2 separate regions of the Homo sapiens genome follow, and region 1 is linked to region 2. The links are contacts of gene promoters, found by promoter capture Hi-C in blood cells and fetal thymus (Javierre and others, 2016). All regions are on one chromosome and are shown on one strand. The core of a region is centred on a gene start or on the middle of the fragment in contact, and the rest is flanking DNA. Distances in the headings are between cores, read along the strand shown. Region 1 has its middle 29 kb from the start of APC. Region 2 holds the start of STARD4-AS1 (STARD4 antisense RNA 1).

Region 1 (3,987 bases), core at 1,361-3,860, 1.2 Mb before region 2:
GCACAGAAGCATTTAGTAAGAACTCTACAATGTACCAAACACTTGGATGGACATTTAACATGTATTAATTTCTTTAACCACCACCCTGTGAGCTAAGTATAACATATTTTATAGATACAGAATGAAATCTGAATAGTAACATACCCACAGTTACACAGCTACTAAAGTGGTTTTAAAAGACTTCAAAAACCCAGATCAAAAGTTCTATCTTGCTCAAAAGTCAATGTTCTTCCTACTATAACAGCTTCCTGGGATGAAAGAATAAGTCTTTAAAGAAAAGAATAGAAATACAGTGGCATAGCAGACTCAAGCTTTAGAACGTCCTCCTAGAGTTGAACAGCACACACACTTATATGGCAGAAGATACAAGCATCTATGTAGGCTAGAGAGGGAGAGGCTGAAGAAGGTGGACAGGAAGTGAAAATGGACAGTTTCTAGAGAAAGAAAGATGGGAAAGGGTACATGGACACATCTGGAGGGAGGGGGTTGCTCTTGAAAAGAAAGAAGGTCATTTCTTCCTCTGAGATATATATATATAAAGAGATGACACTGAGATGAAAAAAGTGAAGTGGAAATATACCTCAGATGGTTGAGATTTTTCTCAGCAAAGGAAGAGATTAAGTTATTTGCTATAAAAACCTGAGGAAATGAGAAGAAAAGGAACACAACACTAGAGACCCAGCAGAGAGCACCAACTGGCATAAAAACTGACCAATATCCTCACATAGCTGTCTCTGATGTCCCTCAGAATTTCAGGGGTCAAACTGGTAAAGCTAGCGAGGCTTATTTAGGATTGGGGACTAGAAAGGTAAGTCTACAGAAAGTGAAGCATTCTAGGCCATCAATAGGAGCTTAGTAAAAGCTGATGATCATGGGATCCTGGTTACACAGGGAGGCAAATGAAATCAGCATTAGGGTAATGGGTTGGAAGAACAGGGAGACAAAGAAGGTTCACAAAGAGAAAGAGAGAGAGAAAGGAAAAAATACCAAATTCCATAAGAGTGGAAGAGTGAGAGGGTTTGTTTGTTTGTTAGGAGACAGGGTCTTACTGTCACCCAGACTGGAGTGCAATGGCACAATCTTGGCTCACTGCAACCTCCACATCCCGGGCTCCAACAATCCTCCTGCCTCAGCCTCCCAAGTAGCTGGAATCACAGGCATGCACCACCATGCCTGGCTTATTTTTGTATTTTTTTTTGTACAGATGAGGCTTTGCCATGTTGCCTAGGCTGGTCTCGAACTCCTGGACTCATGCGATCCATGCGCTTTGGCCTCTCCCAAAGTGCTGGAATTACAGGCATGAGCCACCACACCCTGCCAAAGTGAGAGGTTTTAAAGAGTTTGTGGTCAGATGTTTTTTGATACAGAGCTACAAATCATTTTGCCAGAAGCAGTGAGCCACTGATTGGGGCTCAGCAACCCCTGCTTTGCTACTGCCCCTTCAAACTGTATGCAGAGAATTCAGAGACAACCAGCTCTAAAAACACACAGGCTCTGGTTCCAGAAAAGTGAAGGCTAGCAACGAATGAACTAGCCCATACAAGAAGCAAACATAAAAATATTCCTCCTTCTTTTAAGCTGAACAATTCTATCTCTAAATTTTAAAAATGCATTAAAAGGTCAAAAGTCCACAGTAAAGGGAAAAATAGATTATGTGTTATGAGACAGAATGAAAAGTAAACAAATCTGCCAGGCTATTTATAACCCACACGTTAAAAATTTTTAACATACAATTCTAATACAGCAGGCATAGTTTGTGCTTAACAACTTTGGAGAACATCTAGCATAACTTCAAGAAAACGATATTGCTCAATTTAATGTTAATAAAAAAGGTCCACCCATTTGCAATTTCAAAGGGCAAGCTATCATTTATATTTTTAATCTCACTTCTACAATTTTGGGGCTCTTGACACGTTATCCAACCCTTCCATCCAGGGAAAGATGGAAAAATTAGCCATGGCAACTTCCTCCACTACCGCTTTGATCCCACATTTTGCACTTAGACTCTGGCAAGGTACTACGTTATTTAGGACAGTTTTTTACACCAGTAATTCTGACTACCCTTGCTCCACTAATAAAGGAGGGAGTACTGAGACTGGCACAAGACTAAATCATATAGAAAATATCAAGTACTCCTAAGGAGGGTTGAACAGTAACAACAATCGAGAATACAAGCAATTTAAGAAGTTTTGAACTTAAAAAGCTTTTCTCCATTTTAGTCCTTTCTAAATAGAAACAAAGGGCTTGTACAACATGGAATTCTAAGACGTCAGTAGGCAATTTAAGCTAACACTGAATAAAAGAATAAATCACTTATCCTTGCTTGTACCATTAAGTGATGTCTTACATGTACTGCATAAGGTCTTCTTTTTTAAAACGAATATAACAGTTTCCAATTCTTTCACTAGATCTAGAAAGCTCACGCCCCCACCTCAACAGTTCAGAGACCAAAGATTTCCTACAGCCGAAAAAAATGAATGATTTAGATGAACAATCATTTGCCAACAGAGGCACCATTCCTCTACTTGGTGGGTCAAGGAGTCAGACTCTGACCTAACCATCCAAGGCTCCTGGGGACTTGATTCTCCCATCAAAGTGAACAAAATTCACCGGCCTTTGGATAACAGCCCTTTCTTTGTAACTCCACATGCCGGGCTATCAGGTATTTTCCCAGGCAGAGAGTTTAAAACTTTTAGAGGAAGCAAGAGGGTCCAAACGAGGAAGATGGGGAAGCGACTAAAATGGGAAGGGCGGACGACCCACCCACCTAACGCGAATGGGGCACCACTTGCAGGGGCGAAGCTCCAGCAGCAGCCAGGAAAGGTGGAGGACGGCGGGCGTCGCGACCCCCATCCACTGCGTGAGAATGGAGGACCTGCAAAGCCAGGGGCCAACTGGAGGCCTGAATGGGGAGTGCGGGGAGGGGAGAGGGTGAGACATGGAGAGAAGAGAGCCACAGAGTCGGGCCGAGCACCGTAGGGTCCCGAGCAGCGGCGGGGCAAAGCCGAGGAAGCTTTGCCGGGAGGAGACGTCAATGCCTGCAGCCTCACTCACCTGCCAGACGCTCGCCCAGTGGCCAGAAGTACGAGCGCCGCCCGGGCTCTTCGTCTCCTGCCGGACGCAGCTCCTGCTGCCGCCGGTGCTCCAGGACCCGAGAACTGAGGGTGGTACAGAAGCGGGCAAAGGGGCGACCGGACCCGAGCCCAGGGAGGCGTACATAGGGGGCGCCGAGGCCCGAGAAGGCAACTGAGTGCTTCACCTTCCTCACCAACAGCCAACAACAGTACCTGGGAACAGCATCGAGCCAACCTCGGTCCGCAGCTCCCGGGCCTGAGCCCGCAGGTCCCCCCCGAGCAGCGGCTAGGCTTCCGGCGGCCACACCCCGCCCCCTTGCTACTTGCCCTCCGCCATCTTGTGGGAGGTGGGAAGACTACAATGCGCATGCGTGAGAGGTGTTGCTGGCTTCCCACAGCCCGGAGACTAGAGCCTGTTATGCGCAGGCGCAATGGGTGCTGCGCTCCGCTTGCCGGGCACTGCTTCGCTGTTCTGTCCCGTGAGCCATTGCTGCCTAGGCAGCCGAGTCTCAGTTGCAGCACTTACTGGCCTTCTCTGAATTGTGCTGCAGCCCAGTTAATAGATCCTTCTGCACACACTAGTCCATTATTCCGCAAACATCTATCGAGTGCTCACTATTTGCTACTCCCCGTACTAGACGCTGATGATAGAAAGATGAATAAAATTCTGTCCCAGCCCCACAAGGGCTCATAAGATAGCGGAGAAACGGAGATGAGCAAGTTATTATTTTGTAGCTGCGACCTCTGCTTCCCTACCACCTCTCACTACCACCCTGTAGTTTTAATTTAAAAACACCTCTTCCGGGAAATCCTTGTTTGTCTCACACAGTTTGATAAGTTCTTTACCTTGGATTACCTCTTCAGTTTCATTTCATTCAACATTAATTGAACAATATCATTTGGGTTTCCGATA
Region 2 (4,118 bases), core at 1,018-3,517:
CACTGTGTTTGGACCATACTAAACCCTCAAAAATAGCTCCAGATGATGTATTTGTATATGTATTTCTGAATCTGAAGCTTTGCTGTTAGTAGCATTCCACTTTGATAGAGTGGCTTCCAATTACCCAAACTTCATTCTAACCAAGAAAAATGGCAACAGATGAAGAACAAAAGCAAAAGAAACAAAAACCTCCCAGAAACTGGCTGGAAGATAAGAAATCCCATGGGGGCATAAGTGTGATGTAATGACTCCCGCCGTCCAAAAAAAAAAAGCCAAGTTAATTTTGTTTTAAACATGTTTTACACCATCCTGCAAGAGAATATATAGACTGTTGAGCAAAGTATCCAGAACTGAATCCTAATAATGACAGATACAACTTTTTTACTTTTTTGAAATAGATACGTGGATTTATTCCTCTCCACCATTAAACCTGTGTAAACCCTCACAGTAGGAATTAGGCCTTTCATTTATGGTCCCAGTGGTCTTCACAGGTGCCTTGACAAAGAGCTACCAAGCACCATCTGAATTTTATGGAGACTAAGAGCCCAGTTTCAGAGTCCAGCAGACCTCAGCCAAATTCCAGTTTCTCCACTCAGTAATTAAGCAACCTGCCTTAAGATTTATGTCTGGGGCTCCTCGCCTGTAAAACACACCTACCTTAGGGGGCTGTTAAGAGGATTCAATGTAATTGAATTAAGTAGGTACAACTTAATTACAAAGCACTTTTCCCCAACCATTTCAAATTATTTATCTACGTATTCATCCATCCATCCAAAGCACCTCAATAATTGGCCAATAATTCCTAAGTGAAAGGAGCTTTACAACACACGAAGAACTCTTCTATTATGTCACACGAAATTATAAATATAAATATAAAACAAATTATTTTACATATAAACGATGGAGGTAAAAAATAAATCGGCCAATAATAACTAGCAAGTAGTATTTGGTAATTCTTTTGGTGAGGCCGACTTAAAAATTTACGAAATATTATTTATTTTCATTGCAAGTCTATCAGAAATCACTAATGGTGTAGCACTGCATTCTTCCCTGCTTTTGGTTCTCAAACTACGTATCTTAGTAAACGCAATTTGCAGACAAACCAAGCCTCGCTAATCAGTGCATCATGGCTACTCTGGTAAAGGAAGAAATTCACTGTTTGCCAAGCATCCCATCAGATGGGTGACTTCACAGCCACTGGAAGAAATCTTTCTCATGTTCGAGTAGATGGAAACTCCAAAACTGTGCAGTTGCTAAATCCACTTGTCACACCTCCTCCTTTTCTCTGCTTCTAAGGTTGCCCTCTAAACTCTTTATCTGAGGATGGAAACACACACACGCACCCACACACACCCACACCCACACACACACAAACGTATTTGGCTAAAGGTCAATTCACATAGTGGCAGGGACTTTCGTTTATATGCATTTTCCTTCCCAGCTCTCTCAGTTCTGAGTCAGGCTAAGCAGGAGGCAGAGAGCTCGTCCTCCTCTGCATGGGCGCTTTTTCTTATTTGACTTTTAGTCCTGGGAGGAGTAGCGTAGTTGCGAGATACTAGGATATCCACAAGCGGGATGAATTTGGACCTTATCCCTCACTGTGATCCTTCACTTCGCCTTCTGTTTCAATTTCTCCCAGTCGGTTTACTGCTTGACAAAATTCTTTCACAATTAAGTGATCACAGGACAACCCAACCCAACCAATCCAAACCTGCAGGCAACCCCAGACATCCAGGGAACCCTGGCGCGGCTCGGGCCAGCCCACACCCACGCGGAATCATTCCATTTATCGGCCACCAATCAGCCCTCCACACGCTCCCGCGCCAGCCAATCCGAACAAGCGCACGTTGTTCCGGCCACCTCCTCTCAGCCCCCCCTCCCCGGAGCCCCCGGGATCGGGCCAGGGGGCGGGGCTGGGGGCTCGGCCCGCCTTGCCCTGAGGCGCTGGGTGCCTTCCAGTTGGCTGCGACCAGCGGTGACTTACAAGTTGGCTGCTGTCGCCTGCGCATCGGCGGGCCGGGAGGCTGAGCAGTACTGTTGAGAGCGGTGTGAGGTGCTTGGTAGCGCGCCGTAGCTGCTTCCACGTCCTTGCTTCACCTCAGGTAAAGGTAAGGAGAGCCACGGAGCCGCGGCAGGATTGGGGTGGCCCGTGTGGAGGGCGACTGTGGCGCCCGGGGCGTCCTGCCAGGTGCGTCTTCTGGACCTGCTCCAGACCATGGATCTGGGGAGCTCGCGGTGGACGTTGGGGATGGCGGGCCCCGGCGTCCGGGCGGGAGAGGACCTCACAGATGAAAGAGAAACCTGAGCCCCTGGGAGGGGAAGCGGCGAGCTGGAAGGATCCCAGGGCTTGCAACTCGCCCCTGCGCGCCGCTCACCTATTTAAGTACTTGGAATCCATTAGACCTCAGTGTCCTCAGCTGTTAAATGGGAGAGGGGCGGTGGTAATCCCGCTTGATTTGGGACAGTCCTGTTCTTTGGAGGTCACCGCGCTTCCTGGTTCTTAGGAGGTGCACAGACAGCGCAGGGGCAGCCGCGTCCCACCAGGCTTCGCGGAGGTGATGCCAAAGACAAGAGACAAAGTTTTCCCAGGGCTTACTGCCTTCCAAGGTCCCTGCTAAATGTATTAACTCAAATAATTTCTCACCAAATCAGTGTCATTGTTTTCCCGAATTTACACTTGAGAAAGATTACCTTAGATTTTTAGGTTCAGCAGCCAGGACAAAACTTGACAAATATTTGGTGGGCCCAGGTTTTTTATATGAAGTCTTTTCCAGCCTGTGATCAGCTTCCACAGTTTTACAAGAGAGAGCTTTAGGCTCTGAAGTCAGACGCCCTGGGTTGGAATTCTGGCTCCATCACTTATGAACTGTGTGATCTTGGACAAGTGACTCAACCTTCCTGTTGCTATTTTCCCTTTCTGTAAAACAGGGAAAATGTATAGACATTAAGCTACTATTCTCACTTATGGAAGACCTCAAGATATCTAAAGTATGCCCATTTACACCAATCCTAGAGCTTCTGAATAACTAAAATTCCTTTACCATAATGAAACACATTTTCTCAAGGAGGACTATTACTGTTGTGAGGATTAAATAAAATAAATGCAATGTAAAGCAGCCAGAAGGACTGACCATGTAGTAAGTGATCAATAAATGTTATTGTTATTTTTTAAAATCAAGTACAGAGCATTAGGTTTTTTTTTTAATCAAGTATTAGAGCATTAGGGGTTTGAACAGTAAGTTGGCTCACTATTCATATTGTAGAAATATACTTCCATGTTGCATTTCTTTAAATAGTGAGCTCCTGCCAGAGCCAGTCTCAAAAAATGAGAAGCTGCTGTACTTGTCTGAGTTAGAAAACTTAACAGTTCAACATTGATTGGAAATCAAGCATATGCTGAAATTTTTATGTTAGTTAGAAAATATAATTTAATTTACAAAGCTTTGGTTTGTATGACATTGGGGAAAGTCCATGGCATGTTAAACTGAAGCTGTTGACGGAAGTGAAAACCATATTAATCAAGTAATGCAAGGTTAGACCGTTCTGATACCTGCATTTCTTTAACAAGTGAATTCTGACCTAGTCGTACTACAAAAGTCCAAACAGATTTTTATGGCATTCACTTTACATTACAGGTTAAATGTTTTATTATGTTCCATATTTAAAATAGAACCTATGCCATCTCACTGTGACAGATATTTGAGAATAATTGGAGTTGGATTGGTCAAGACTATGGTGCTGATAGATGGCCTCAAGAAAAGTAACTTGAGACAGCTGCCCTCCCTATGATGGCAGCCACTATCACCACTAGTGATAGCTTCAAAAGCATGGGCATAGAAAACATGAACAAAAAGATTAAAGGAAAAACATGGAGGTGGACATTACTCAGCATTTGGCCATGGGACTGACAAGAGTATAAAATCTTTTATATGAACCTATTATATTCTGATAAGGTTAAGTGGTGCCTGTTCTCTCTGACGTGTAAATGTTAGAGTTGGATAATTTCCTGATATAAGGTCAAGATAAGGGAATAAAAGACTGAATTAGTAAAAGGAAGTTCAGAATGGGTTCAGAATGGCATTTAAAACATTTACCTGACATTCTCCACAGTTGGAGAT

What was found. The method cuts DNA at HindIII sites, captures the fragments that hold promoters and counts their contacts. A CHiCAGO score of 5 or more calls a contact.
Region 1: a fragment that was not itself captured here is called in contact with the fragment with the promoter of STARD4-AS1 in region 2 in 2 of 17 cell types (total B cells and non-activated CD4 T cells); the score reaches 8.1 in total B cells.

What each region holds. Positions count from the first base shown.
Region 1 is chr5:112,706,950-112,710,936 of GRCh38, reverse strand. It overlaps a transcript of APC not described here. Among named protein-coding and RNA genes, the nearest start is that of APC, 29 kb to the left of the region's middle. RefSeq lists an enhancer at 3,400-3,459. The HindIII fragment of the contact is 810 bases long and covers 2,206-3,015 here.
Region 2 is chr5:111,510,375-111,514,492 of GRCh38, reverse strand. STARD4-AS1 (STARD4 antisense RNA 1) reads right to left here and starts at 2,267. Exons shown (of 7, transcript NR_040093.1): 1 at 1,985-2,267. It overlaps STARD4 (StAR related lipid transfer domain containing 4), which reads left to right and starts at 1,958. Exons shown (of 6, transcript NM_139164.3): 1 at 1,958-2,108. RefSeq lists enhancers at 1,494-1,633, 2,114-2,323 and a silencer at 1,714-2,083. The HindIII fragment of the contact is 3,364 bases long and covers 80-3,443 here.